Linked DNA regions of Homo sapiens: all the other regions are linked to region 1. Evidence: promoter capture Hi-C in 16 types of primary human blood cells and fetal thymus (Javierre and others, 2016). All regions are on one chromosome and are shown on one strand. Each heading gives the region's core, a stretch centred on a gene start or on the middle of the fragment in contact. The rest is flanking DNA. Distances are from core to core; before and after follow the strand shown.

Region 1 (6,077 bases), core at 1,366-3,865:
GCACAGTGGACTTTTTCACTTCTATACTTTGTATGCGGCCTTCCACACTTCCAGAGAATGTCAGTGTGCAATGTGTCTGGAGGGTGGGGAGAGGAATTCTGTGAGCCTTTTCATTTCGGTGACAGAAGAGATGGGCAGAGCAACTTATTTTCCACATTAAATTGTGCATTTGGGAAGCAAGTAGCCATAGTACACACACAACACGCTATCAGCTTGGGTAAGGACAGTGGGATTTATGTGAACATCAGGCAAAGCCATGAGATCAAACCATCCCAAGCCTTTCACCAATGAGGTACAACCACCTGGGGGCTAGCTAATCTTGAATGTTTTCCTGAGACAGGAGCGTATGTGAAAACATCAAACACTGCACATGACAGGATGGGTCCTCTCATACAGATGGGATGGGGTTAGAAAGCCAGAGCCAGTTTTTCCATCTGGCGTTTCCTGTGTCCTCCAGGTTTATATGGGAATCGAAACAGTTTGTTAATCTGATTGGGAGAGTTCCATGGGCAGATTTCCCTTCCTGAAGGCCAAAACGGAGAACTGCTCTCTTTAATTATTTCAAGAGTCAAGACCAAAAGTTTGCTCAGCATCACACTACATCTCAAAATTAATGTTGCCAACTTAATTTTGTGCATTTGTGTCAGAATGTTTAGTTTACAAGGTTGGGGGCTCTCTTTGCTTCGAGAAGTAAACCTAATACCATTTTTTTATTGTTTAAAGCTGCATTCAACGTCAAAATTACCTTGGGTAACTTTTGATAACTTACATGTGTGGACAAAGCTAATAGTGGTTTTTTAAACAGCACCTTGCCTGAACATGACTTTAAAGAAATTAATATATTGAAAACATGTTTGAACCCTTATTTTAATTGCACCATTAAAACATTTGACTTAAATTGTTTGACCATTCCAGTTGGTGTACTGTTCTGATTTTTCGTTGTGTAGGCCGATCTGCCTGTCAGAGTCCACGTGTCCTGGTCACTGGTCTTTATAATTGTTGTGCAATAACTAAAGGCTAAGGACTAGATGCACTATCGTGTAAAGAGATTACACATGACTGTACCATGTTGCACTTAATCAAATAGTATGTGGGGATTTAAAATCGCTTGCATTGTTTCACAAAATAAATATCTCAATGTCAAATACTAGATAAGCATCTAAGTCATTTCTACGGAATCCTGTTCAGATAGGGGCACAATAAAATGAGTACAGAGCACCGGGGCCCTCACCTGGCAATCGCAGCTTTCATTTACTGCGTTGATCACTGCCCAGTCCTAAGGCTACAAAGCCATCCTCACTACATCCTTCAAACTATGTGCCATTATCTTCAGCCCACATTTAAAGAATCCAGTGAAAGTTCGTAACTGAGGGGGTAGGGCAGTGGTGCTCCTGGGCTGCAGTTTACACCCTTCATTGTCTAGTATAATGTTAATTCGGGACACCTTCATTCATCGAATGTCCATGTAGTGAACGCATACGTGCATCCTTGCCCACCATTGCTGCCCTGTACTCAGAACTGATGCACCTTTCACTGGAGCCCTTGTGGAAGATCTTTTACCAATCACTGAATCTGGACTGTGTAACTAGGTGTCTATGTTGTCCCCAACCATATATAAAATCTAATTCACCTTCACAACCGCCCTATAATTTTGAACTGTTTAGGAGTGACAGATTAACCTGCCCAAAGCTTTAGTCCCATGCTTGTCAGTACTCCTGCATGGTTATTTGTAAACAGGTCGATTACCCTTTAGTCAGGAGTTAACTCAATGCAGTTCCACACCGAATCTGTTTATGTCAAGTACACAACAGCCCTGCAGACGCCATTCCACGCTGCCTTCAACTAAATCTGCGCGTCTGATGGCAGACGCGACAGCCTGGGACTTATGTCGAACTCACGGCGAAGGCACAGCGCGCGCGATACACTCAGGGAAGGCTGGGCTGGGGAACGTATGGGAGCAGAGGGGCACTCCTTACGCATCAAGAGTCCGCGTATCCCCGTCAGCCACCGCCCCCCTAACACGCCATTCCAGCCTTGGTATTACGGATTGAGGCCTGTCGTGGCAAAACAGCTGGAAAATTGCCCAGCCTAGCAGCCGGACAGTCAGGTTACTTCTTGTCGCTCGCGGTTAAAAAGGCCGCCCGCGGGAGGCCAGGCGGCCCCAGTTATGCGCAAGCACATGCTCTAGCGCTGCAGATTGACCCCCGGCGCCACGAGGAAGCTCGGCGGGGGCTCAAAGACAGCGCGTCGCCAACGACACACACCGACACCAGGGTTGGGTTCAAACCACTTTATTGACGGGAATGGGGTGGCAAAGCAGCAAGGACGATGACATCCGACGTCCTCGGCTGGGAGCTACAAGAACGAGAGTGATAGATCAGCGGGTGTGCGCGCGCCCGCCCGCCAGCCCCCTCCCAGCTCCGCTCGGGCAGGCTCAGACTCCAGTTCGCATCACCCGCGTCAGCAGTCTAACACGTGCTTTAATTGGAATGTCATCACAGCAGGCCGGCCCCCCTACGCCTCCCTGCTCCCGAGCCACGACCTCCGGGGCCCACCCAGCCAGACGACCCGCCAGGAATACAACCTGACCTCCCGGAACCTGCAGGCGCTGAAAGACAGGGGAGCGTCGATGGCGTTCTTTTAAAGGAGCAGACCAGCGCTGATGGGCGGGCTTTACTGCCATTAACCAATAGCAAGTTCACCTTGCGACCACGTGCGCGTAAAGTTGTCTGGTGACTGGTAGTCCTTGCTGAGTCCTCCAGAGGATAGATGGGTCACATACCAACCATAGAGATGGGAGTCGCTCAGTCTCAAATCCATTTGCGTTTCAGCGACTCCACCGCCAGCTGGTAATGAGCGCATCTCTCCGCAGTACGCAAAAGAAAACTTCACCAAGAGCAGGCGACGATGATGCCTAACTTGGATGACATGTTCTGTGCCAGGAGCTAGGATAGGAGTTGAGAATGGAAAGTTAAAAACTGTCCCCAAGTGCAAAATAACCTGTCGTGGTAGAAAGAGCTTGTATTGAAAATGGACCGATCTGCACCACATCCTGACTTTGTGATGCGTTCGCTCTGTGACCTTGCTCAGTTAACCTTTCTGAGATTCAGTTTCTGGAAATTAGGAATACCCCCCCGCCGCCCCCCCCCAACACACACACACCGCGAAAAAAAAAAATTGTAAGGATTCGGTGAATTAATGCCAATTGCCTGGCACATTCTAAGTGGTAAACAAAGGTATTTAAAGGGCAGAGTGATGTGAAAAACTTCCTGGGATTGCAAAACTTTAATAAATACTAACATAGCGCTATGAACAGCCTACTGTAGAAGCCCAAAGGACAGAAAGCCTGACTTTGGGAAAGCTTCGCAGAGTTGATTGAGCCTGTTCCCCGGACATACAGGTGGATGAATGATAGTTTGCTTAACTGGGGGAGGACACAGTACACCAGCAGTCACAGTCGCCGGTTATCTTTATTGCCTCCCTGTTTTCCTTGGGAATTCTTTTCCTTTTTTTCCTCTTAATACGGAAAATTTATTGTTTTGTGTGTGTGTGTGTATGTGACAGTGAAATCATTTCACCCTATGGGTTTGTAGTTGAATGGGCTCTTATTTTCCTTATTTTCTATATAGACTTTAAATTCAAAAAATTCCTCTTTGGCCGGGCGCGGTGGCTCACGCCTGTAATCCCAGCACTCTGGGAGACGGAGGCGGATGGATCAGGTCAGGAGTTCAAGAACAGCCTGGCCAACATGGCGAAACCCTGTCTCTACTAAAAATACAAAAATTAGCCGGGCGTGGTGGCAGGCCCCTGTAATCCCAGCTACTCAGGAGGTTGAGGCAGGAGAATCGCTTGAACCCGGGAGGCGGAGGTTGCAATGAGCTGAGATCGCGCCATTACACTCTAACCTGAGCAACAGAGCGAGACTCCATCTCAAAAAAAAAAAAAAAAACCTCTTTAATCCAAAGCAATAATGACTTTGACAAGTGTTTAGTAGTCTCTATTTATTTTTGTTGCTGTTTTAACTTTCGTTATCTCAACATTTATTACATTATGGTACAGTTTCCGCATTGGGCAATGTATGAAAGTTTTCTTTGTGACCTAAAATATCAGTTTTTATAAGTGTTCCACAGATTGTTGAAACGAAGATGTTTTCACTATCAAGTACAAACATGGTATAAAATATTTATTTATTAATTCAACCTTAGTTGTGTTGTAATTACATTGTCCACAGCTCTGCTTTGTGTATTATGTACTTGCTTGGAAGTTGGCTGTTGGCTTTGATTGTGATGTGTTAAGATTATGCCTCAAATACCAAATGCCAGTGAGGATGTGGAGCAACAGAAGCTTTGCTCCATTACTTGTTTCGTTTTGTTTTTTGAGACAGTCTCACTCTGTTGCCCAGGCTGGAGTGCGGTGGCACAATCTTGGCTTACTGCAACCTCCGCCTCCCGACTTCAAGCAATTCTCCTGCGTCAGCCTCCCCAGTAGCTGGAATTACAGGCATGCACAACCATGCCTGGCTAATTTTTGTATTTTTAGTAGAGATGGGGTTTTACCATATTGGCCAGGCTGGTCTCAAACTCCTGACCTCATGATCCTCCCGCCTCAGCGTCCCAAAGTGCTGGGATTACAGGCGTGAGCCGCCGCGCCCGGCCTGCTCTTTTCTTTTCTTCTCCTCTTCTCTTTTCTTTTCTTTTCTTTTTTGAGACAGAGTCTGGCTCTGTCGCCCAGGCTGGAGTACAGTGGCACTATCTTGGCTCACTGCAACCTCTGCCACCCGGGTTCAAGCGACTCTGCTGCCTCAGCCTCCCTAGTGCTGGGACTACAGGCACGGACCACCATGCCCGGCTAATTTTTGTATTTTTAGTAGAGACGGGGTTTCACCATGTTGGCCAGGCTGGTCTTGAACTCCTGACCTCAAGTGATCCACCCGCCTCAGCCTCCCAAAGTGCTGGGATTACAGGCATGAGCCACCGTGCCTGGCCTGCTTTTTTATTTTCTTGACAGTGTCTTTCAAAGAGGAGACATTTTTAATTTTGATGAAAATCTAATTTATCAATTTTTTAATAGACAGTACTTCTGGTTTCATATCTAAGAAATCTTGGCCTAATACAGATTTTTCTTTTATATGGTTTCTTCTAGAAGTTTAATTTAATTTAATTTAATTAATTAATTAATTTATTGAGACGAAGTCTCGCTCTGTCACCAGGCTGGAGTGCAGTGGTGCGATCTCAGCTCACTACAACCTCTGTCTCCCAGGTTCAAGTGATTCTCTTGCCCCAGCCTCCCGAGTAGCTGGGATTACAGGCGCACGCCACCATGCCTGGCTAATTTTTGTATTTTTAGTAGAGATGGGGTTTCACCATGTTGGCCAGGATGATCTCAATGTCTTGACCTCGTGTTCCGCCCACCTTGACCTCCCAAATTTCTTGAGATTACAGGCGTGAGCCACTGCGCCCGCTCTTCGAGAAGTTTTATAGTGTTTGCTCTCGCATTCAGGTCTATTATCTTTTTCAAGTTAATTTTTGTGTCTAGTGTGAGACAAGAGTTAGGTTCATTTGTTTGTATATGGATATTCACTTGTTCCAGCACCATTTGTTGAAGAGGATATCCTTTCACTTAAAGTACCTTGTCATGTTTGTAAAAAAAAAAAAAATTGACCATATATGAGTTGGTTTGTTTCTAAGCAGTATCTTCTTTTGCACTGTTATTTATCTACCCTTTATTACCATTGCTTTATAGTACATCTTAAAATCAGATATACAAGATCTGTAACTTTGTCCTCTTTCAAAATTATTTTGACTATTTTAGGTTGTTTGTATTTCCAGAAACATTTTAGAATCAGCTTGTCAATTTCTACAGAAGACCAGTAGGAATTTTGCCTGAAATTATATTGAATCTGTAGATCAATTTGGGAATAATTGACATCTTAACAACACTCAGTCTTTCATCCCATGAATACAGTATATTTCTTCATTTAAGTCTTATTCATTTCCCTCAGCAATGTCATAGTTTTCATTGTACAATCTTGCATATATTTTGTGAAATTTATCCCTCAGGATTTCATTTATAATGCT
Region 2 (6,077 bases), core at 2,786-5,285, 330 kb after region 1:
TGGTGGGTAAATGGGTAATTTTTTGTTTTTGAGATGGAGTCTCGCTCTGTTGCCCAGGCTGGAGTGCAATGGCACGATCTTGGCTCACTGCAGCCTGATTCTCCTTGAATCGCTTGAGTCAGCCTTCTGAGTAGCTGGGATTACAGGTGCCAACCACCACGCCCAGCTAATTTTTGTATTTTTAGTAGAGATGGGGTTTCACCATGTTGGCCAGGCTGGTCAAACTCCTGACCTCAGGTGATCTGCCCACCTCAGCCTCCCAAAGTGCAGGGATTACAGGCGTGAGCCACCGTGCCCAGTCTGGTAATTTCTTTAGAAAGCCTGGAATGTTGGATATTAGACAGATGTCCTTTCCACTCAGGTACACATTTAATGAGGATGAGGGGGAGCTTCCGGAGTGGTTTGTGCAAGAGGAAAAGCAGCACCGGATACGACAGTTGCCTGTTGGTAAGAAGGAGGTGGAGCATTACCGGAAACGCTGGCGGGAAATCAATGCACGTCCCATCAAGAAGGTGGCTGAGGCTAAGGCTAGAAAGAAAAGGAGGGTAAGTGATGGGGCCTCCAGAGATTGGGTGGGGTGGGGGTGGGGGGATGGGGAAGAGGTCACCTGACAGGTTCCTTTGCAGATGCTGAAGAGGCTGGAGCAGACCAGGAAGAAGGCAGAAGCCGTGGTGAACACAGTGGACATCTCAGAACGAGAGAAAGTGGCACAGCTGCGAAGGTAATGGGAGGACACCACAAAGGTACACAGGGCTAAAAGTGCAGCAGAAAGCAAGCCTCTAACCTCTTCTCTTCCCCCCTGTAGTCTCTACAAGAAGGCTGGGCTTGGCAAGGAGAAACGCCATGTCACCTACGTTGTAGCCAAAAAAGGTGTGGGCCGCAAAGTGCGCCGGCCAGCTGGAGTCAGAGGTCATTTCAAGGTGGTGGACTCAAGGATGAAGAAGGACCAAAGAGCACAGCAACGTAAGGAACAAAAGAAAAAACACAAACGGAAGTAAGCAGAGCTGCCAGGCTCCCAGGAGAGCATGGGGACTAGGAGGAAGGGTGTGGCATGGCTCAGTCTGGCCCCCTTGATTACCGGCCTAGCCCCTGCTCACATCACAGCTGTCTGAAGAACAGTGAGGTGGAGTGCCTAGAACTCCCGTGGTGGTCCTGAGCAGAGAGGAGGATGTCCTCCTGCCTGCCTGAAGGTCTCCCATGAAAACACTGCTGAACTGTGTTGACACTCATGACCCTTTTTTTAAACCGTTAAAGGGAAGTTCGGTGTTGGAGCGATACTCAATGTAGTCAGTCTACACCTGGACGTGTGGGCCACTTAAGCCCTCCCCACCCCCATCCTATTCCTGAATAAAACCAGGATAATGGAAGAGTTGTCTTTTCTGACAGTTTTAATAAGCACTTCCCTATCTGTCCCTACACTGTGTGCGGCACTATTCTTAATATGTACCAATTCATAGACAGAAATGACAAACGATCCACAGGTCCCGGTAGTAAAACATTTACTAGAGAGCAAGCAGAAAGGAATGCACATCTTAAAGAAACCTTCACAAAGTCACAAAAGTCAAAGTTTGTATATTTCTTTTCCTTTTTATAAACGATAAACAAAAATCATCAAAATCATTTCAGCAAAAGACTTTTCTATCATTGGGGCAAGTTAAAAAAAATACAATGAGATAGAAGACACTTTAAAAGCTGTTGTTGGGTTTCTTGTTTAATTTTAAATTTAGCAATACCATCTCAAACCTGGAGCAATCCTGGAACAGTTACCAGGATCACCTTTTCCCTTCAATCCTTGTGGCTTCTGGGAATCTTCAGAGCCTGGGTCTGAAAGGTGTTTCCTACATGTCTCAGGGCTGGATGCAAACCTGGCTGGGGACCTGAGCATCAACTCCCATTTAGAATCAGACATCTCCCTTCCCTGCAAATGTCTACAACTACCAAATTGCTCCCCAACAGTTAGCTCAATGGATTGAATTTGCAGAAGCCAACTCCTAAAATGGGGACTGCCTGGCCATACAACTAAGAAAAAGAAGTCAATTTATAGATGCTTATAAGGTGACACCTTAGTAAAAAATATAAGCTACATACAATATAAACCTAGAGTGAGTTTTGTGCCCTAGAAGACCCTTTATCCCAAGATAACCTCAACTTACCCACATGACAACTCACCTAGAGCCAAAAGAAGCTTCCCAGCTCTCACTGCTTCCAAGGACCAAAACAGCTTCCCAAGAAAACATCCGAAAATTCCTTCTGATGAAGGGGTAATGTCTCCAAGCTCCAGCTCTCCACTAAGGGCAGGGGGTCCTTACACTTTGGACCCCAACCCAGCCCTGAGACACCTAGTTACCAAAATCTTTCTAAAAATTAAGGACAACTGATTTCACGCTTTAGCACATCCCCTCTAACTGTCCCATCGACTTTTCTTGCGTTTAGGCGGCTCTGGGACAGCAAAGCCGTCAGCTGTCTTATCTGTCTTGCTGTCCACCTTGTCCATCTTGCTGCTGTCCACTTTGGGTTCCATCTTGGGCTCCATCTTGCTCTCACGATTAAAAGCTTCTTTCCTGCTTTCCCCATTCCGACCATCATTTGCACCCCGGTTCTCCCCATGCCGGCCTGCGCTTCCTCCATGTCTGTTCTCCCCGTGCCGATGGCCATCAGTATGACGGCTGCTGCTTTCTGGATGGCGGTATCCATCTCCATGGCGACCACCATCTCCGTGACGTGGACTATCGCTATGCCGATTGCCAGTCTCTCCGTGACTGTGACGGCTGCTGCCCCGGTTCTCAGTATATCTCTCTCTTTTCCCGTTGCTGCCCCCAGTCCCTTCTCGGCTGTTATTCCCTGAAGCTGTGTTGTTGACTCCTTGGGCTCCGGCAGACGGGTAGGTCACAGGGGCACCACTGATGTTGCCAGTATTGCCAAAGCCTGGGATGCCCTTGGCGGCACTGGTGACGGGGCTGTCAGGACTGTTATGGCCCTGTTGTGCTGAGTTAGTTGGAACAGAATTCAAGCTCCCTGCACTAGTCCACCCACTTGCCCCAGCAGCAGAACTTCCAGCCTTCTGATTACTTAAACTGGCTGCAACAAAGTGACTCTTGTACTGTGACTGAAAGAGAAAGAGACATCAGGAGTAGGTAAGATAGCAAGTTCAAGAAACTTGAATATACAACTTGGCAAATGATGAGGTTTACAGAAACTCTGTGCTATCCTGGCACTGTGAGTTTAGTGTCCTGATGGCCCCACAGTATGGTCCCTTTTGTTCTTGTGCTATAAAGGAAAACTTGTGGATCTCTGTGGAGAGATGGACCCCCAGTGTTCTGAAATGTACTTTTATAGCCTGATTGGCTAGAATAAAGCATCTATGTATTTAGCACATTTATCTGCATTCAAAACCAAAAAGTTCTGAAAACTTAAAAAAAATTTTCATACTGCAATTTAAGTTTGACAGCAAAACCTGCCTTGAACTCATTCTATCGATTCACCTTAGTGTGACTATCAGTAAATTTTGCTTCAGAAGTGAGTTGGAGGTGGGTGCCTGGGAGGTGGGCAACACTTCAGGCTGTTGGGAAGGGAGGGAACACACACCCTGCTGCAGGACAACAATCCCAGGCCCCAAGTGTGACTCAAAGTAGACCAGCACAAGGGGTTCTCTAGATCAACTTGCATTTCCAACTAAGCTACTGTTAGGTTTATATTCAAAATCCAAGCAGCGTGAAGACCCTAAATCTAGCATCAAGCCTAGGCGCCCAGCTACAACCAGGAAAACTAAGCCCCTCTGTCACTGCCCAAGAGTTACTGCTGAAAGTGCTTTTAATGAAATGCTTATTTCAGACCTGGAAAGCTGCTTTCATTGCCGTTAGTCGATCTCCCATAGCTCCTGTGGAAGGCTTGTAGGCCTCATAATTGCTCATTACATTGTTATTTCCTCGATCCTAAAAAAATAAACACATCTATGAGAATGAAAAAATAAGCAGGAAAGCTCACTGCTATAGACTAGGCCTCATTATGAAAACCCTTGAAGTGGGAGCTACAAAGGAACTGGATACTTTTAGAAAGCTGCTACTGCTTTGTGAGAAAAGACACAGTGACAATCATTTAAAAATGCTTATGCCCTCAACCCAGAAATTCTATTTCTGGAAATTAACCCTATTAAACAGAAATGCAATCAGATTATGCCCAAAGTTGATCATGTATTTACATAAACACTTCCAATTAATTAAGTAAAAATTACGTTAAAGATGAAAAGGCCCTGAATAGCATATTGTGTGACTGCTCAGGCCCTGAATCAAGACCATGAAGGGTCTGAATTTCGGCTTGAACACTTGTCACTGTAACCTTAGGTGCCTCAGCATTGTTATCTGTACTAACTTCCATTCAGTTATTTTGAAGATTAACTGAGCCAAAACATCTGATTGCTTGGAATGGTCCTGGCACATATAAAGTGCTCAATAAATATTACCTATTATTATGCATCATCATCATTATTATTATAATGTGGGAACAGAGTATGTAATTACAAAGATGCCAAGTTTAATGCTCCAGAAAAGTATACTGGCAGCTTTCTTCCCTGGCTTGGAATCAAGGTGACAGAAAACAGGCAGTTAAGAAAGGCCACCAAAAGGGTACATTTGTTACCTGGTTTGTGAGAAAAACTAGCTCCCGACTTGGAAATTCCTGATCCGTTCCTGAGTTTAATGACAAGATATGGCTAGACTTTACAGTGACCCTTTGGCAACATTTACCTAGCAGCAGGCTTTAGGCCAGTGTTGAAGGGCTTATAAAACCAGACTGCTGGGCCCCAACTCCAGAGTTTCTGATTCACAAGGTCTGGGGTTGGGGATGAGTTTGCATGTGCTGCTGGTCCAGGGACCACAGTGTGAGATCACTGCTAATCTAGAATAATTTCCTGAGCAAGCCTAGTCAACCAAGTACACAAAGATGCTTCTTCAATAGAAAGTTACCATAAGAATGAGCACTGCATTGACTCAAATCAGATTAAATACAAATTCCCTTCTAGACAGGGCTTTAAACTCACTGAGGCTTTCCTGGGTAGATGAGAATATTCCTAATGACTTTCAGGACATGAGACCAACTATAAAGGCACTACTGTAGTAGTCTAGACTCACCATGTTCTCAGAGCCCAGGCCAGGCCGCTCCCTGTAGCCTAGGCCTCCTCCACCAATGTTCAGCTTTTTTCCTTTCCCTCCTTTGAATCGAGATTTCCGAAACCAGGCATTCTGCATTGAACAAAATTCAAGGTTAAGTCAAGGGAGGGAGAAAAGAACAGAAGAAGAGAACGAGGACAAAGAGGAAATTAAGTGGGAAGGGGGAACTTTTGCTTAATTTTCAGCCAGCACTACGCTAAGGGAGGAATTTTCACAGGAACCACAGATTGGTTTCTCTTTGGTAGCATAATCCACCAAATTTGAAAAGTGGCTGAGATCCTTATCTAAGGCTTCCTACAGTGCTCCCTCCCTCAAGGCTCTCCTGGAAGGGAAGTTGTTCAGGTAAGCTTCAAACCCAGAGGAGTAACTTTGGCTACTTCTAACTTCCTTGAGGAAAATGAGCTTATATTTTATTTCTCAAACCATGTATTATTGGACGTAAACATTTGGAACTTAAACAACTGGTATGTTCAGAAGCAAAGGAAAAATGCTATGTGAAGTGAGGCTTATCAGAACTGACTATAGGGACAGACTCCCAGAAAGGATGGTAGCCACACAACTGAAAATTTTATTTACCCGCAGAGCGTAAAAGTTTTCATTGAACTTGACCATTGCCACTCAACATATTTACTCACATTCTCTTAAGAATGCAGGGCGGTGGCTCACGCCTATGAATCCCAGCACTCTGGAGGCCGAGGTGGGCGGATCACTTGAGGCCAGGAGTCAAGACCAGCCTGACCAACATGGTGAAACCCCGTCCCTACTAAAAATACAAAAATTAGCCAGGCATGGTGGCACATGCCTCTAATCCCAGCTGCTTGGGAGGCTGAGGCAGGAGAACTGTTTGAACCGGAGACGCAGAGGTTGCAGTGAGCTGAGACTGCGCCACTGCACTCCAGCCTGGGTGATAGA
Region 3 (6,077 bases), core at 3,520-6,019, 310 kb after region 1:
AGGACCCACTGCTTCAGTTCTTCCCTGTCTTTGTCTCAGGCACTAGGAAAAACTAGTCTGGGATGTCTGGGCCTGGGCTTACAGCTGTAGCCACACTTAGTTTTTTTCTATAATCTCAGGCCAGAGAAAGAACAATCTTTAAGGCAGAGAAAGAGGCTGTCTTTTGCCTTTCAACAGCTCTGATTAATCTCTTCCTGATGCAGAGAGACTTTGGCAGGACTCCCAAAGCCCCAGAGCCCCCCACTTTGAACTTTTTATTCTCCCAAACACTTCCGTCCCACCCTGCTCCTCCTCTCCCCATCCTCACGTCTGTGGGTCATGTTTCTTTCCATCTCCGCATCTGGTCAAGAATCTGACCCTCTGTGTTGGGAACATGGGTTTAGTGCGGGATGAAGAGGTTGGGGAAGAATCTCATCTCCATGATGCTGGGGTGGGGGAGGGTCCTTTGATTTGGTACAAGTCTCCACCCTGCCGGGCTTGGTTGGCTGGTTGTGCTCGTTGCATAATCTGGGCCCTGGGGCCAGCCCTGTGAAGCTGCCAGGGACAGTGTGTGCAAGGCAGAGCTGCCAAACAGGCCTTGCAGGCAGCAGCCATGGGGAGGCGGGTGGGGGTGGAGGTGACTCCCAGATGGGCTCCACAGAAATGTCAGGGAGCAAGGCCTCAGGTGGGAAATCCTTCTGCAGGCATCTAAAGAAGCTATTTCTGTCTCCCACTTTCCTGCTGCTCAGCCTGGGCCTCTATCCTTGCCTCCCAGGATAATCTTAGCCCCCTTCTCCAGCTTGGGATTGCCAGGGCTACACGGAGCCAGAGCCAGTCCTGGCTGCCAGGTGGTGCCTGGACCACTGGCAGAGTCCAGGTGCTAGCTGCTCTCTTTCCCACAGGCCACCCAGGAGCCATAGCTTCCCTTCTGGGGTCTTCTGTCATAGGGGTAGTAGTTGGGCAGTAGGGAGGTAAGAGGAGGGTCCAGTTCTGGGCTGTGGGTGGGGGCTATGTGATACCAGACTACAGGGTACAGGGTCCCTGTACCCTGCCCGAGGCCACCCCCACCAGCTGGTACACGTTCCAAGCCATCCTGTTGCAGCCCTGCTCACCTGGGGTGCTGCTGCCTACCAGACCCCTTTCTCCCTCGGCCACAGAGGATGGGGATTGGGGCTCTGCGCCATTGGCCTACTCATACTATAGTACACTCCTCTGCCTGGCAGTGACACTGCCCCTGTGCCTCTCAGCCATGCTTCTTCTTCATGATGGGAGAAAGAGAAGGAGGGCAGGGCTTGGCAGGACTGTCTGAGAGAATAGGGACCAGCTTGCCCAGGGAATAGGGCACAGCATGCTGGGGCTGGAAGGTAGCAATGGGCCCTGAAAAGCTCCCCAAGGCCCTTCCCTCTGCAGGCAGGACCCTCCTCCCAGCCCAGGTTCTGGCAGGCCTCATTCGCTGGCATGGCTGCCAGGGCGGTTGCAGGGGGCAGGGCAGGTGTGGTTTACACTCTGTGCTCAGGCGCCCACTCCCCTTTGTTCCTGGGGCTCCAGCAGGGCTCTGGTGTGCTGCTCAGGCCCTACCTGGCTGACGAGAGGGATGGAGGGCATGGGCTATGGGTCCCGGAGGGCCTTGCCCCTGACCTATGCACCCCCGTTGGCTCACTTCCCCCAGCGACCTGGCATGTCACCAGGGAACCGGATGCCCATGGCTGGCTTGCAGGTGGGACCCCCTGCTGGCTCCCCATTTGGTGCAGCAGCTCCGCTTCGACCTGGCATGCCACCCACCATGATGGATCCATTCCGAAAACGCCTGCTTGTGCCCCAGGCGCAGCCTCCCATGCCTGCCCAGCGCCGGGGGTAAGAGCATCCTGCTTCTCTCACTCTGCCTAACTCAGCTCTGGTGGTAGCAGAGGGTTTCCTTCTATCTTAAGAGCTTTGGTGACTGAGGATGACTCCAGGCTCTCCTGGGGGAGAGGGTCCTGGAGACTGGAGGGGCGTTATGGGAGTGAGTGTCCTTTTTTGGACCATTGACCTCTTAAGTGGGTTTCTGTCCTCCCCAGGTTAAAGAGGAGGAAGATGGCAGATAAGGTTCTACCTCAGCGAGTAAGTGTTAAGAGGACACCTGGGAGGCCTGCCCAGTGGCCACCTTGGGGTGGGTGTCCATCTCTCTCAAAGCTGGGCTGCAGCAGGAAGGGAGGAAAGAGCCAGGCTTTGGCTGAAGCAAGCTGATGAGCTTCTGCTACCTTCCTTCAGATCCGGGAGCTTGTTCCAGAGTCTCAGGCGTACATGGATCTCTTGGCTTTTGAGCGGAAGCTGGACCAGACCATTGCTCGCAAGCGGATGGAGATCCAGGAGGCCATCAAAAAGCCTCTGACAGTATGTGTGGCCCTGACCACCTCTAGCCTTCCCAGGTTTCCTTGCCTTCCACCCCCTTGTTTTCCAGGGGCCAAGCAAGTTGGGCTAGAGCCGGGTTTTTCACATGCAGGATGCAGCCCACTAGTAGAGTACGAACTCAGTTGAATGTGTTGGGGCCAGTATGTTTTAAATGAATATATGACAGTAGAAAATCTTAAAATACTTCACAGTAGTACTTACCATAGTAGTAAATGGATTCTTTCATGACATTTTTGTTTCTGATAAATAGATATGCAGACCTTGGGTCATAATTGAAAATGTAAATCTTATGGGTGGTGGTCAAAAGTTTGAAAACCACTAGACTAGGGGATAAAGGTAGTTCCTTTCTCCTTCCCCTTCCCCATCCATAGAGAAATTTTCTTTTTTTTTTTTTTTTTTTTTTCTGAGATGGAGTCTCGCTCTTTCACCTAAGCTGGAGTGCAGTGTTGCGATCTCGGCTCACTGCAACCTTCGCATCCCAGGTTCAAGTAATTCTTCTTGCCTCAGCCTCCCGAGTAACTAGGATTACAGATGCCTGTCACCACGCCCGGCTAATTTTTGTATTTTTAGTATCGCCATGTTACCCAGGCTGGTCTCGAACTCCTGACTGCCTCGGCCTCCCAAAGTGCTGAGATTACAGGCGTGAGCCACTGCACCCAGCCGAGAAGCTTTTCTTAATAATAATGTAGAACAGTCCCGAGTGGTGAAGCCTTTCCAGGGGACTAGGATATTTTGGAGCCGTGATGGGTGTTTGGGTTTCATGTAAGATGTGAGCCAGAGACTGGCTGCGTGTTACTCCATCATGCCGTAGCACCAGTCCCACTGTGCTGGCATTGTTGGTGATGCATCTCTTTCCCCATAAAATGGTGAGTTCCGGCCAGGTGCGGTGGCTCACACCTGTAATCTCAGCACTTTAGGAGGCCGAAGTGGGCAGATCACCTGAGGTCAGGAGTTTGAGACCAGCATGGCCAACATGTTGAAATACCATCTTTACAAAAACACAAAAAATTAGCTGGGCATGGTGGTGCGCACCTGTAGTCCCAGCTACATGGGAGACTGAGGCAAGAGAATCGCTTGAACCTGGGAGTCAGAGGTTGCAAGTGAGCTGAGATCGCGCCACTGCACTCCAGCCTGGGTGACAGAGTGAGACCATGTCTAAAAAAAAAAAAGGCTGGGACTGGGACTTACTACTTCTGATTCCCAGTACCTGACAAGGTGCCTGGCTGGCTCATGGTGCTCAGTACTGATTGTTGAATGGTTCATATGAGAAGATGCGGTAGCACTGTGTCCCAGCATCTTGGTCCACCTCCAGTTGTGATTGCCTTTCTCTCTTTAGCAAAAGCGAAAGCTTCGGATCTACATTTCCAATACGTTCAGTCCCAGCAAGGCGGAAGGCGATAGTGCAGGAACTGCAGGGACCCCTGGGGGAACCCCAGCAGGGGACAAGGTGGCTTCCTGGGAACTCCGAGTGGAAGGAAAACTGCTGGATGATGTGAGTTGGGGAGGGAGGTTCTGGAGGGAAGGAGGCCTGTGTGGGTTTAAGACTGAGACCAAGGAGTTTGATACTAGCCTGAGCAGCAGAGCCAGACCCCATCTCTACAAAAAATTTAAAAATTAGCTGGGTGCGGTGGCATGCACCTGTAGTCCCAGCTACTCATAAGGCTGATGCAGGAGGATGGCTTGAGCCCAGGAGGTCGAGCTTCAGTGAGTTATGATCACACCACTGCACTTCAGCCTGGGTGACAGAGTGAGATTGTGTCTCAGAAAAAAAAAGACTGGGCCAGACACTTGGGCGCTCCCAGAGAAGTCCTGCCATAGGGAGGGGGGCGCTGCTCCAAGCCCGTTGGAGGTTGATTTGTGTGGTTATTACAGTGTTCCTGCAGATGGCAGTCGAGTGTCTCGAGGAAGTCCCTCGTGGGCTGCAAGAGGGCACCATTTCCCTGCCTCCAGTCTGCCCAGAGTCCTGCTTCCATCCTTCAGGGCCCAGGAATCTTCAGTATCCGGAGCTCCAGGGCTGAAATGGGGCTTCTCTTTCTTGGGATTTAGCATAGCTTGAGATTTGAGAGCTCAGCAGCACCATCTCACACCCCTTTCCATCCCCAGCCTAGCAAACAGAAGAGGAAGTTTTCTTCATTCTTTAAGAGCCTCGTCATTGAGCTGGACAAGGAGCTGTACGGGCCTGACAATCACCTGGTGGAGGTGAGAGTGGGCCTGGGGCAAAAGCAGGCTGATGTGCAGGTTTGGCAGGGAAATGGCCTCAGGGCCCTTGGGAGGCCCTGTGTTCACGCCCACCCCCTTGGTGATAAGCCATGCTTCCCTCCCTGCCAGTGGCACCGGATGCCCACCACCCAGGAGACAGATGGCTTCCAAGTAAAACGGCCTGGAGACCTCAACGTCAAGTGCACCCTCCTGCTCATGCTGGATCATCAGGTGACAGAGACCCTGGGGTCATTTCTGGGCCCACAGGGACCCCTCAGGAGGGGAGCTGGTTCCTAGAAACCCTTCCTGTCCCTGCCCTATTTTCCCACTGTTCTACTATAAGAACCCGTTCTGACTCCCCTCCATCCAACTCCAGCCTCCCCAGTACAAATTGGACCCCCGATTGGCAAGGCTGCTGGGAGTGCACACGCAGACGAGGGCCGCCATCATGCAGGCCCTGTGGCTTTACATCAAGCACAACCAGCTGCAGGATGGGCACGAGCGGGAGTACATCAACTGCAACCGTTACTTCCGCCAGGTTAGCCAGATGCCAGCCCCCGTTTTCTCAGCCCTTGCTTTGCCTTGCCTGCTGGGCTACTCCTTGGCCACAGCCTGCAGACTGCTGCCCTCACTGGTCCTGGAATGGTCCACTCCACTGTGCCCACAAGCCAACGCTGAGCCTTTCGTATTTCCTCCAGATCTTCAGTTGTGGCCGACTCCGTTTCTCCGAGATTCCCATGAAGCTGGCAGGGTTGCTGCAGCATCCAGACCCCATTGTCATCAACCATGTCATTAGGTAAATGCAAGGAGGGGGACAGGAAGGCTCTTCTAAGAGCAGATTCACCCTTGGCTTGAACTAAAGCCAAAGAAAGCATCAGGTTTCTTTTTCCCTGAGTGTGTGCAGAGAATGGGCCCCAGATTTGGCCCAGGTGGGCAGGATGAAGTCAGCTATGTGCCTTCCCTCCCCATGTGCTGCCTGCAGTGTCGACCCTAACGACCAGAAGAAGACAGCCTGTTACGACATCGATGTGGAGGTGGACGACCCACTGAAGGCCCAAATGAGCAATTTTCTGGCCTCTACCACCAATCAGCAGGAGATCGCCTCCCTTGATGTCAAGGTGGGCCCTCTGGCTCCACAGCTTCCTCTGGGGCCCAGGATTGGGGTGGGCTGGCTCTGTCCAGCATTTCCATACATGTAGCACCTGGAGGACGGGATGGGAACTCTGGCTCAGTTGCTTGCATGTAAGCTTTGGGGGCACAGTCTGACACAGGTACCCTCTCCAGATCCATGAGACCATTGAGTCCATCAACCAGCTGAAGACCCAGAGAGATTTCATGCTCAGTTTTAGCACCGACCCCCAGGACTTCATCCAGGAATGGCTCCGTTCCCAGCGCCGAGACCTCAAGGTGTAGTCCTCTTTCCCGAGGGGACTCCTATGTAAAGCTCTGGGTGATTTTTACCCACAGCAGTTCCCAGGGTGGATTAGCCCAGGGGTGGGGATTATGCT
Region 4 (6,077 bases), core at 2,574-5,073, 290 kb after region 1:
GACCTTCCAAAGTGTTGGGATTACAGGCGTGAGTCACCAGGCCCCGCCAAAACCTAGGGTGTTTTTACGGATTCAGACTACATGATAACCCTGCTCTGTCCATGGTGGCCCTGGGGCCCCTGCTTCCCATCTTTGCTTCTCAGTGGGTAAGGAGCTAGGTAGTGGTGAACTCAGAGATGAGGATTTTTTCTTTTCTTTTTTTTTTTTTTTTTTTTTTGAGACGAAGTCTCGCTTTGTCATCCAGGCTAGAATGCAGTGGCGTGATCTCAGCTCACTGCCACCTCCGCCTCCCAGGTTTCAAGCAATTCTCCTGCCTCAGCCTCCTGAGTAGCTGGAATTACAGGCACCCACGATCATGCCTGGCTAATATTTGTATTTTTAGTAGAGACAGGGTTTCATCATGTTGGTCAGGCTGCTCTTGAACTCCTGACCGCTAGCCATCCACCCGCCTCAGCCTCCCAAAGTGCTGGGATTACAGGCGTAAGCCACCGCACCTGGCCTATTTTCTCTACTCTTCAAAATAGAAATGTGTATATGGAATTTTTGGAAATTTCCCTTTTCAGCATAAACTCCCACTATCACTTCCTTTGTTCTCCTCGGCCATCGACCCTTAATTAATATTGCCTGATCACTTTAACTCCTTTCCTTTATGTTCCCAATTTCCCCTCATCTGGTTCCCCACTTGCTTTCCCGGGAGTAAGGTAAGCTTGGAAAGCTTTCCTTTTATTTTCTCCTTTGATTTTTTTTTTTAATGAGAAAAATGTGGCAACTGTAATAATGAAGCACTGCTGGCCAAGAAGCTCTCTAGAAATGGGAAAATAATAATCCTTATTTTGACAAGAAAGATCAGGCCTCCACTCACATAGGATATGGAGCTGGATCACAGTGGTTTTCATCAACCGCTGACCCTGCACCACCAAAGAGGCCTCGCAGGAGAAATTTCAGCCATCATCTTCCTCCCTGGCAGTAAGTAGAAGCCAGGCAGGCTCCCCAGCAGGGAGGTCTGGGGCTCCCTGAAGCCGAAGAGTAGGGCTGGGTGATGTTAATACATGCCCTGAGCAGGTCACATTAATGTCGGTCCCTGCCAATGGGTATGATTCTTTTAGCTCCAGGATTGGTGGAGGGAAGCCTATAAGGAAAGGAAAAGGAGAACCAGACACATTTCTCAAAACTAGCAGACACTTCTGCACTCTTGCTGCTGGTAAAAGCCCTTGGGAAGGCAGACAACAGGGGAAAGATTTTGGATACCATTGCTTCTTCTGTAAAAGCTGAAGAAAGAATGAGGTGGTTTGGGGATTCAAGAGCTTCTCTTATGCATGCACACATTTAGCTATGCTTCGCTGCAAGGACTGCAAGATGTCTTTTCATCTTACAGCTTTCCTCCTCACCTCAAATAAGTGTTTCTAAGAAGTAGTTCAGGGCATCCACAATCACTCTGTAAGCAGGATAGCCTAAGGAAACTGGGGATGAAGGCTGGAAAGAACTACTGTAGCCCATGTCCCCAATCTGCCTGCATTTACCAGAGAAAGATGAAGACTCATGTTCACTTGAGAGCATACCCAGCAAAGGGCAGCAGGGATGTCTACAGCCGAATCACCAACCCGTTACTCTGTGTTTTCAGCAGCAGAGAACCCGTATGAAAAAGGAAGAGCCAGGCCACTTATTGTAGCTATGCACTAGCTTTCTTGTCTTCTGTTCCATTGCACCCAGAGATGCAAAGCAAGACAGTTCCTGATCACCAGCCTCCATGGTCCGAATGGTAGCATTGGCCCATGCTGTGTCCCCCTCCCAGGAAAGGAAGGAGCTCAGCTCTTGGTCTTCCAGGAACATGTGGAACATAACTTCTTTGGCTGGAAACACCCTAGCCACCTCGCAGCTCACAGTCTCCGCCATCCCAGCCTCCAAAAGGGAAGAGACCCAGATGTGGGGACTCTGAGAGAATTCTGCCAAAAAAATGAGGACAAGAAGAGAAAGGAGAAAAGCCATGATAAATCACACATCATGCAGGACCCTTCAAGGTAGGAAGGGAGTGGGGCTAAAATGTCTCTCTTCCGCAGGGTGAGTTTAAAGCTCAAGCAAAGGTGGAGCTCAGTTACTCTCACATCCTCACCCTAAACCCCGTGAGAACTTAGTCCCAAAGGCCAAGGCAAGATGAGCCCCAGGATTCCTCCTGCACTTGAGTTCTGACTCACCAAAGATCCGGACTATTCTGATGGGTGAGCTGCCTTGAAAGAGCCTCCCACCTTGCAAACTCAAGTCCAGTTCTGCATGGCAGGAAGAATTGCATCTGTCATTCTCCTTTTGGGCTCTGACACTGATGATGACTTCAGCTCTTTGGGAGGCCACAGCCAAGCTCGTAAAGTTCTTTCTATGCAGTTCTTGGTTACCCTGGAGAAGGGCAAGGGTGAGACTCTCCAAGGGTGCTACACTGGGTACATGACACTTCACTGTGAAGGCTTCGTCCACAGCCACCCAGGCAGGCTGCAGCTCCAGGATCACTTGCTCTGGTGGCTCTTTAAGACAAAAAGGCAGGACTTGATGAGCATGCCACCCACCTCTCCAGAAAGAAACAGCATAGGACAGAAAGATGAGGTGATACAAATCACAGAAGGTGACTGCCACCCTTAAACCATCTGATCAGCAATGTCAGCTTTCTGCCATCCCTGCCCTAGATGGGGTGAGTTAGTCTTCTGGCTCTTCTTCTTCGCATCAAAAGTGGCTATGGCCATAGCAAAGAAGAGTGACTGCTGAGGGAGAGTCCCTTGCTTTGACTGTTGCTGCCATTCTGGAAAGCATTGATCTCTTACCAGAGGGGCTTCAGAGGCAAGAGCAGCTTCCGGGGGCTCCTTAGCATCACATAAAATCTATACTGTAGCAGGCCAGGTGCAGTGGCTCACGCCTGTAATCCCAGTACTTTGGGAGGCCAAGGCAAGCGGATCACTTGAGGTCAGGAGTTCCAGACCAGCCAGGCCAAGATGGTGAAACCCAGTCTCTACTAAAAATACAAAAATTAGCCAGGTGCGGTGGCAGGTGCCTGTAATCCCAGCTGCTCGGGAGGCTGAGGCAGAGAATTGCTTGAACCCGGGAGGCAGAGGTTGCAGTGAGCCAAGATTGTGCTACTGCACTCCAGCCTGGGCAACAGAGCAAGACTCCATCTCAAAACAAACAAACAAACAAACCAAACTATAGCTAACCAAGTTCTGACCCCATAGAGACCACATTTGCTTTCGTGCCATATCTTTGTCCATGTTATTTGCCCACCTGAAAGGCCTTCCTCACCTGTCCCCTTCAATTCAAACCCTAACTATCCTGGGGGAGGGCAGTGCAGGAGCCTCCTCTACCATGGAGCCTTCTCAGGCTGCCCCAGCTCACAAAAACCCTTCTCTCTCCAATCTCTGTTTATTCCAAGAGCTTGTAGCAAACAATTCAGCATTAATTTCATACTTTTTTTTTTTAAGAGACAGGATCCCACTCTGTTGCCCAGGCTGGAGTGCAGTGGTGTGATCATAGATCACTGCAGGCTTGAACTTCTAGGCTCCGGGGATCCTCCCACCTTAGCCTCCCAAGTAGCTGGGACCACAGGTGCACGCCACTATGCCTGGCTAATTTTAAAAACTTCTTTTGTAGAAACAGAGGTCTCACTGTGTTTCTCAAGCTGGTCTGAAACTCCTGGCCTCAAGTGATCCTCCTGCCTTGGCCTCCCAAAGTGCTGGGATTAAAGCATGAACCACTGTGGCCAGGCTAATCTTATACTTTTTGGTAATTTAACCATAAACATTATTAGCATATGTTTCCTGTATTGAAGATATTTTCAAGCACAGATAATCTGGATGCTCTCTATGGTCTGCTCCTAATTTAAAACTCAGAAGAAAGCCTACATCAAAGGGAAGTAGAAGTGGGCCCGGCTCACTTCTACTTGCTGGACTTGAGGTGGCTCACACCTGTAATCCCAGCACTTTGGGAGGCTGAGGCAGATAGATCACTTCAGGTCAGGAGTTCAAGACCAGCCTGGCCAACATGGTGAAACCCCTGTCTCTACTAAAAAAAATACAAAAATTAGCCAGGCATGGTGGTGGCTGCCTGTAGTCCCAGCTACTGGGGAGGCTGAGGCAGGAGAATTGCTTGAACCCAGGTGGAGGCTGCAGTTAGCTGAGATCACACCACTGCACTCTAGCCTGAGCAATAGAGCAAGATTCCATCTCAAAAAAAAAAAAATAAATGAAAAAGGTGATTGGATCTAGAATCCCTACAGTATGCCAGAAATCTTTATTAAGGGCCTTAATTATCTCCCCTAATTAGAAACATTTGTCCCATCCTTCCCTAAATAAGACATGTTCATGTTTCCCCATTCCTCCTTTCCATCCCCCTGCCCCCAGCCCTCAGCCCTACTCACAATACACAGTGATGCCAAGGCTTGTGTCCTTTTGAATCCCTGCACAAGAGAAGAAGCACTGCAGGATGGAATTCTCTGTGACATCCTCCAGAAGAAACTCTTTCCACTGAGGCCCTTTGCCCACCTGAGTTTTCTTTAAGAAGGTCTCAATTCCACTGGGTCCTGGGTCTGGGCAAGTAGTGCTGCAGTTGACCACTAGGGACTGTCCAAACTCCACCAGGGCCTGACTTGGCCAAATAGAAACCTCAAACAACTCTTCCGGGACCCCTGAAATATGAACCACATCGGCCAGGCGCGGTGGCTCACGCCTGTAATCCCAGCACTTTGGGAGGCCGAGGCGGGCGGATCACAAGGTCAAGAGATCAAGACCATCCTGGCCAACATGATGAAACCCCGTCTCTATTAAAAGTACTAAAATAAGCTGGGTGTAGTGGCGCACGCCTGTAATCCCAGCTACTCGGGAGGCTGAGGCAGGAGAATCGCTTGAACCCAGGAGGCAGAGGTTGCAGTGAGCCGGGATTGTGCCACTGCACTCCAGCCTGGCAACAGAGCAGGACTCCATCTCAAAAAAAAAAAAAAAAAAAAATGAACCACATATGCCAATGACTCTGGTGAGGACCACGAGACCCAAATAAATACAGAACCTATTCTATCTAGTTCCAGGTTAGAGAACAGGAAACCTGCCCTGAAAAAAAAGGTTCAGACAACCAGACAGGACAAAAGACCTGTAATTGGCCGGGCGGGGTGGTTCACGCCTGTAATCCTCCCCACTTTGGGAGGCCAAGGTGGGCGGATCACCCGAGGTTGGAAGTTAGAGACCAGCCTGACCAATATGGAGAAACCCCGTCTCTACTAAAAATACAAAATTAGCCAGGCATGGTGATGCGTGCCTGTAATCCCAGCTACTCAGGAGGCTGAGGCAGAGAATCACTTGAACCCAGGAGGCAGAGGTTGCAGTGAGTTGAGATTGTGCCATTGCACTCCATCCTGGGCAACAAGAGTGAAACTCCGTCTCAAACAAACAAACAAAAAAAAACTGTAGTTAACAAGTTAGCTCTGATTTCACCACTATTCCCTCCACCTATCATCTTTCTTGAGAACTTGAATTCTCTATTAGTATCACCATGGAAATTATGGAGTTGCTAAAAAAAATTATGCCCAGGAAACCAATATCTTCCTAAACTTTCAGAATTCTTGAAAGCTCCCCATAATAGGCTGCTGTGGACCCTCACAGGATTCGAACTTCATTACTTATCCCTGAAAGCAGTGTCTCTCTCAAATTATGGCTAAGGATTCCCTTTGCCAGAATCATCCTAAATGCTTGTAAACTGCAGACTCCAACTCCACCTCAGAGCGCATGGTTTCAAACCTGTGAAGGTGGGACCTGAAAATATGCTAAGGAATAAAACAAGCCTCCCGGGGACCCTTATGCACACCAAATTCTCAGATCCATTGGCCTGCAGGTAACTCCCAGGGTCACTCATTTTCCATGCCTCTTCTTTATGCCTCTTCTCAGAGTGAGACCATTCCATTTTGATTTGGCGCTAAGGGAATGGATGTTTTGGATGCTTACAAATTTCGTCTGTTCTGGAAATCTTCTCTGATGCAATGGGAGATGTCAGATGGATTTTTATTTTATTTTACTTTATTTTATTTTATTTTTGAGACAGAGTTTCACTCTTTT
Region 5 (6,077 bases), core at 1,173-3,672, 260 kb after region 1:
TGGTTGTGTGGATCCTTCGGGAAGGAAAGCGAACAGAGGTTCCAAGTCTACAAGGGAAACAGCCCAGCCTACTCTGAAGAGCTTTGCGGGACGGCTCATCCAAACTACTGAGCTCTAAGAACTGGAACCCTGGAAACCCCAGCAAGAGGACACCCGCAGCTGGACCAGGCCCCGAAGAAGCAGATCATCCTCCCTCAGAGATCCACAGCAGCTGGGAACCCGGATCTGCAGACCCGCTTGGTTTGAGGGTACTGTGTGGGACCATCTGTCAACACTGACACCCTGTGGCAGTGAGAAGCAAAGGCAGCAGCCGGCTAAGCCTCCAGGATCTCCCTGCTGGAACTAGAAAGTCCAAGTGGCCCCCTTCTTCCCTCTTTTTTTTGTTTTGTTTGTTTTGTTTTTTGTTTGTTTGCTTTTGTTTTTGTTTTCTTCAAGATGGGGTGTCACTCTGTTGCCCAGGCTGGAGTGCAATGGTGCAATCTTGGCTCACTGCAACCTCAGTATCCCGGGTTCAAGCGATTCTTCTGCCTCAGCCTCCCCAGTAGCTGGGATTACAGGTGCACACCACCATGCCTGGCTCATTTTTCCCTTCCTTTTTGGATTCGCTGTGCTTCAAGGCACTGAGGCCATGAGGCAGGGTTTGCAGATACAGGGTAACTACAGCCCTGATGCGACTGATCCTGACACCAAAATGGCTGTGGATCCCTGCATGGTGTGGCTGTATACTCCTGTCTCTTAAACCTGCTTCTTAACTTACTTCCCCAAATGCTCAATTCAGGGAAGGTGGATGATTTATATTAGACTCACATGATGAAGGAGCAGTAGCTCCACCTAGTGGAAACATTGAGGTTGAAAAGTTCATGTTCGGGGATGATGCTATTTTACAAAGTCAAGATATTTCGTGTCCCTCCGGGAAGCCTTCCTTGATCCGAGTTATGCTTTCTCTTAACAATCTGTTTTCCCAGTCATAGGAGTTCATGCACAAATGTAATCTCCTACTTGTTTGTCTAGCTTTCCTAATATATTTTTGGAAGCCAGGAACAATGTTTTGTTCACCACTGTATCCCCACTGCCTTGTATGTGGTGAAACCAAAGGGTTACTTTTACACTTAATCTATAGCACCAGACTCAGGGGAGGTCTGGGAAGAATGGGAAAACGTTTTCCCTCTGCTGTCTGATGCCATGGTTTTTTCTAGCTGGTATCTGCAATTTGGAAGGCTATGGACCTCTCTCTATCTGGAAGTCTGACCTTTAGCTTTCATTTTTGTTCCTTTATTTTGCTTTTGAGACAGGGCCTGGCTCCGTTGCCCAGGCTGGAGTGCAGTGCATGATCTCAACTCGCTGCAACCCTCCACCTCCCGTGCTCAAGTGATCCTCCCACCTCAGACTCTCAAGTAGCTGGGACTACATGCATGTGCCACTATACCTGGCTAAGTTTTGTGTTTTTTGTAGAAATGGGGTTTTGCCATGTTGCCCAGGCTATTCGCAAACTCCAGGGCTCAAGTGATTCACCTGCCTCAGCCTCCCAAAGTGCTGGGATTACAGGCGTGAGCCACCACACCAGCCTGAATTTCAGTTTTGAAAGCAGGTCAAATAGGCTGCTGCCCTCAGTTAATGCACCCCCGGCCCTGGGCTGGTTGTTTATGCTATCAACACGGTATTTTTTCCTTAGAAATTGTACTTAAAGTTATAAAATGCAGCCGGGAGTGATGGCTCAGGCCTGTAATCCCAGCACTTTAGAAGGCCGAGGTGGGTAGATCACGAGGTCGGGACTTCAAGATCAGCCTGGCCAAGGTGGTGAAACCCTGTCTCTACTAAAAATACAAAAAATTAGCTGGTCATGGTGGTGGGCGCCTGTAATCCCAGCTACTCTTAATCTATAGAGGCTGAGGCAGAGAATTGCTTCAACCCGGGGGTGGAGTTTGAAGTGGACCGAAATCACACCACTGCACTCCAGCCTAGGCAAAGAGCGAGACTCCATCTAAAAAAAAAAGTTATAAAATGCAGCCATTTGACATAAGAGCTTTTAGCAATGACACAGAAGGGAAGGGAACTGCATTTGGACATCATAAAACCACTTTTATTTTTACCATAGCAACATTCCAGTGAACATTTCTTGACTGATTTGGGAGAAAACATCTGGTTCTGTGATTCCTCACGCCTTCTCCGAGGGTGAATATACTCTTTCTCAAGGACAGGGAAAGAAGCTGAAACATAAAATCATATGAACATTTTCACAAGAAGATTCCTCTTGAAGCTTCAAGGAAATTGTTTACAGACAGAAGAAAATATGCACTTATTGATGAAAAGGGAGAGTAAAGATTGGAACTTTAACCTAGATGCCCATATGGGTAAAAAAAAGAAAACTGGCAAATGCGAACTCACAGTTGATCACTCTATGAAAAGGAATTCAGAGATGTTTGGAGCTCTTAACCTATGAGGCCAATTTCATGGAAGAACTCTACCTTCTCCTTCAGAGACAGAATACTGAGCTAGATAGGATGCCCGTCTGGCCCAAAGTGGAATTTCTTACCATCTGTATACTCCCCCAAGACCCGCAACAGATGGTTACTGAGTTGAAGCTTGCCACTGATCCTTAATGATGTCAACAAGCTCAGCTCTGGGAGCTGGCCCTCCAGAAGCCCAGGTCAGGGGAGCAAGGGAAAGTGGAGATAGGAACAGAGCTCTGATTCCTGGCCCCATATTTGATACTTACTCCCTTCAAAGTCCTGTCCTTGGACTACAGATTTAGTTCCCAGTTAGTAATCAGAAAACCATGAAATATGAGTTGTATTTCTAAGATATGCCTGACTTTAGTATGATGTTTAAGAGAAAAGGGCAGTGAGAACCATGAAGAAACGGCAAGATCTTTTCTTTTTTTTTTTTTGGATCTAAGAGTGGACTGATGATGCACCTGGCAAGGAGCAAGAGGCCTTCTTACAAATCAAACATTGAGACTGAGATTCCTAATGAATAGAGTGAGCTCTAAAGAGAAAGGTGGCTGGGCGCGGTGGCTCACACCTGTAATCCCAGCACTTTGGGAGGCCAAGGTGGCCGGATCACTTGAGGTCAGGAGTTTGAGACCAGCCCAGCCAACATGGTGAAACCCCATCTCTACGAAAAGTACAAAAATTAGACAGGCATGGTGGTGTGCACCTGTAATCCCAGCTGCCAGGGAGGCTGAGGCAAGAGAATCACCTGAACCCGGGAGGCTGCAGTTGCAGTGAGCCAGGATCGCATCATTGCACTCCAGCCTAGGCGACAACAGCAAGACTCCATCTCAAAAAAAAAAAAAAAGAAAAAGAAAAAGAAAAGAAAAGAGAGAGAGAGAGAGAATGGTGAGCTTGTGGACATATTGGACACACAGGACATGGGGCATGGGGGCCTGAAACACCGTTTTACAGGACAGACGTACACAAAGGGGAATGCAGCCTGCCATTGTGTTTCTTCCTTTCTCCTCTATCCCTTCTTCCCTCCCTGGGAAACCACAGTAGCAGAAGTCTCATTCAATCAAACAGTTGTCAATTATATGAGTTGTACTTTTCTCTTCCTGAACAGCAAACTGGCTTTCCTCCTCTTTGTCCTCCTCTTTCTGCCTATAGAGCAATTTCCTCCTGTCCACTTTGCAGGGCCGATAGCTCAAATACAGTGCTATGGTGATGACACCCACTCCAAGGGCAACGGTAATAATGACAAAGAGGGTAGAGCTTATTCCTTCATCCAGTCCTGCCCAAGCACAGAAGATAGAGTTAGGAAAGTCTGAGAGTACAAGGATCACCCACCCCAGCCCACCAGGCCCACTTCTGAGTCTCATTCTTCCCAACCTAGTAGAATCTTTCTTATTTTCATGCTTAGATAAGAATCCCAAACCCCTGAGGGGTTTCCATCCTGGGCCTGGCAGCAGGGCAGCAAAGGTTACCTTGAACAATGACAGCAATGTCTTTGCTGACAGAGCCCAGCTGGTTAGTGGCTGTGCAGCGGTAGGTTCCAGTGTGGTTCTGGGTTGCCTTCTGTGGCACTTCAAGGTCAAAGACCACCCCATTCCAGGTACACACCAAGGCTGGAGCTGGGTTTCCCTTTGGGACGCAGGTGAGCGTGTGTTCCATCCCTTCCAGCCAGGTCTGTTTGGCAGAGCAACTGGATTCCTCTAACCGTGGTTGGTCTGCAGAAACAGTATCCCAAGGAGCTGAGTTCAGTGCACCACACTCCCTCCCTACTTCACCCCCTGCTCCCTCTCCTCCCCTCACCCAAATGCTGTCCCCTCCACCCAACAGCTTTCCTTCCCAAGGGAGCACTAGCAGCTCCCTGCTTTGAGCCAACTCTTCTTTCCCACTTTCCGTATGGGCAGGGAGTCCCAGATGAAACCTAGGGTGTTCTTATGGATTTGGACTAAATGATAACCCTGCTCTGTCCATGGTGGCCCTGGGGCCCCTGCTTCCCATGTTTGTTTCTCGGTGGGTAAGGAGCTAGGTAACAGTGAACTCAGAGATGAGGATTTTTCTACTTTTCTTTTTGGTTTTTTTTGGTTGTTTGTTTGTTTTGGAGACAAAGTCAGTCTCACTCCTTCGCCCAGGGTGGAGTGCAGTGGCGCGATCTCGGCTCATGACAACCTCTGCCTCCCAGGTTCAAGCAATTCTTGTGCCTCAGCCGCTCCAGTAACTAGGATTACAAGCGCATGCCACCACACCCGGCTAATTTTTCTATTTTTAGTAGAGATCAGTTTCACCATGTTGGCCACGCTGGTCTCAAACTCCTGACTTCAGGTGATCCACATGTCTCAGCCTCCCAAAGTGTTGGGATTACAGGCATGAGCCACCACGCCGGCCTATCCTGAGCCTTTTGAAGCTGACGCCAGAGGTGCAAAGCGCAGCCTCTCCCCATTGGCCATGTGGAGGCTCTTGTTGGGTACTCTCTCAGCCTGCAGGAGCCAGGGATCTGGCCTCAAGTGATGCCCCAACAGTGGGCGACCTCCCAGTACTGTCAGGGGAATCCCAAGTCTAATTCAAAGATGATTTTTTACTAGCAATGAATGATGGATGTGGTCTCCATTGCTCAAGGCTCTGGGAAGATCTAGACTAGAGAAAATGATCATTGACTTCTACCCACACCTGTGGGCCTCAGTTCTTCCCTCTGGTCCATGGTTACCATGGTAATCCCTTATAAAGGTGTTTCCCCAGGGGTCCCTAGAGTCCTCTGAGTCACCATAATTCTGGGGTCAACAGAAGTGGAGAGGTGAGAGGAGACACTCCCCTGCCCCGGCTGGTCCCACGTGTTGCTGTCAGTAACCTGCCTGGGGAGCCTTGCCACCCCTGTGCCCACCTGCGGAGTTATGCAGTGGTCCCCAACTAGGGCCCCTGCCACCCTCATTCCTAAGGGAGGCTGGAGACTTCTTCCATGGCCGAAAATCCACATCGAAGTCCCCAGAACTGGCTAAAAGGACCTGTCATGGGGGCTCCCTGTCCCAGCTGACATTGGAGGAAGGATGGTGGGGGAGGCAGAAAGCTACATGGAGCTCAGGGACCCTCTTCCATTCCCACCTAGCTCCTCCTCTTTGCTGGTGCTGGAAGGAGCAGGGGAAAGTGGTGACTCCACCCTCCCTTGGCCACATATTTCTCAGAGCTGGTATCATTGATGACACCCCTCTTGGATCCTCACACAGGCGGGCCTGGAGAACAGCCCACAGCACAGTGCCCTCCCAGCAGGTGATGAGTCTGGGGTGCTGGTCCGATAATGTTTCAGGAATGATGGCAGAAAATGGAGCTCTGTTTTCTGCTCTGAAAGTGGGGAGATGGCAGGGCCCCAGCATTCACATCCTAGGCCACAGGGGTGTGGGTTTTCAATGTTGGTTGCCAACACCACAGCCAACCACTTCTGGAAGCATTTGCTTGTTTGCTTGCTTGTGTTTCTACAGAGTCAAGTGCTAGATGCTCTTAAACTCAGGGGGGAAGATTTCACCACTAGAGAGGGTGCTCTTTCCTGCTCTCATCTCTGGGGGTATCTGATGCTTGTGACCTCCAGATTATATTGAAGTAGCCCCAACCCTGGGCACCAGGAGACAGGAGGCTCAGTCCTGGCCT

The links. The method cuts DNA at HindIII sites, captures the fragments that hold promoters and counts their contacts. A CHiCAGO score of 5 or more calls a contact.
Region 2: a contact is called between a fragment that was not itself captured here and the fragment with the promoter of SNHG25 in region 1, in 1 of 17 cell types (total CD8 T cells). The highest score is 5.8, in total CD8 T cells.
Region 3: a contact is called between a fragment that was not itself captured here and the fragment with the promoter of SNHG25 in region 1, in 5 of 17 cell types (naive CD4 T cells, naive CD8 T cells, total CD8 T cells and 2 more). The highest score is 7.6, in naive CD4 T cells.
Region 4: a contact is called between a fragment that was not itself captured here and the fragment with the promoter of SNHG25 in region 1, in 12 of 17 cell types (naive CD4 T cells, naive CD8 T cells, total B cells and 9 more). The highest score is 12.9, in naive CD4 T cells.
Region 5: a contact is called between a fragment that was not itself captured here and the fragment with the promoter of SNHG25 in region 1, in 6 of 17 cell types (naive B cells, total CD8 T cells, total B cells and 3 more). The highest score is 8.9, in naive B cells.

The regions. Positions count from the first base shown.
Region 1 is chr17:64,142,508-64,148,584 of GRCh38, reverse strand. It overlaps SNHG25 (small nucleolar RNA host gene 25), which reads right to left and starts at 2,615. Exons shown (of 2, transcript NR_132278.1): 1 at 2,585-2,615; 2 at 2,276-2,355. It overlaps SNORD104 (small nucleolar RNA, C/D box 104), which reads right to left and starts at 2,507; the gene lies at 2,428-2,507. It overlaps SNORA50C (small nucleolar RNA, H/ACA box 50C), which reads right to left and starts at 2,246; the gene lies at 2,114-2,246. It overlaps TEX2 (testis expressed 2), which reads left to right. Exons shown (of 12, transcript NM_001288732.2): 12 at 1-1,358. RefSeq lists enhancers at 2,187-2,396, 2,374-2,928. The HindIII fragment of the contact is 1,672 bases long and covers 1,692-3,363 here.
Region 2 is chr17:63,814,723-63,820,799 of GRCh38, reverse strand. DDX42 (DEAD-box helicase 42) reads right to left here. Exons shown (of 18, transcript NM_203499.3): 16 at 5,127-5,237; 17 at 3,834-3,932; 18 at 1,483-3,106. The coding sequence ends at 2,402. It overlaps FTSJ3 (FtsJ RNA 2'-O-methyltransferase 3), which reads left to right. Exons shown (of 21, transcript NM_017647.4): 19 at 362-545; 20 at 627-721; 21 at 806-1,367. The coding sequence ends at 998. Among named protein-coding and RNA genes, the nearest start is that of PSMC5, 9.7 kb to the left of the region's middle. RefSeq lists an enhancer at 1-975. The HindIII fragment of the contact is 2,959 bases long and covers 2,556-5,514 here.
Region 3 is chr17:63,833,197-63,839,273 of GRCh38, reverse strand. It overlaps SMARCD2 (SWI/SNF related BAF chromatin remodeling complex subunit D2), which reads left to right. Exons shown (of 13, transcript NM_001098426.2): 2 at 1,649-1,833; 3 at 2,037-2,079; 4 at 2,230-2,352; 5 at 3,707-3,862; 6 at 4,474-4,569; 7 at 4,699-4,800; 8 at 4,946-5,107; 9 at 5,268-5,365; 10 at 5,552-5,687; 11 at 5,854-5,976. Among named protein-coding and RNA genes, the nearest start is that of SMARCD2, 6.4 kb to the left of the region's middle. RefSeq lists an enhancer at 4,072-4,231. The HindIII fragment of the contact is 2,098 bases long and covers 3,721-5,818 here.
Region 4 is chr17:63,855,740-63,861,816 of GRCh38, reverse strand. It overlaps the pseudogene TCAM1P. Among named protein-coding and RNA genes, the nearest start is that of CSH2, 15 kb to the left of the region's middle. The HindIII fragment of the contact is 6,211 bases long and covers 718-6,077 here.
Region 5 is chr17:63,883,895-63,889,971 of GRCh38, reverse strand. No RefSeq gene overlaps it. Among named protein-coding and RNA genes, the nearest start is that of GH2, 5.0 kb to the right of the region's middle. The HindIII fragment of the contact is 325 bases long and covers 2,260-2,584 here.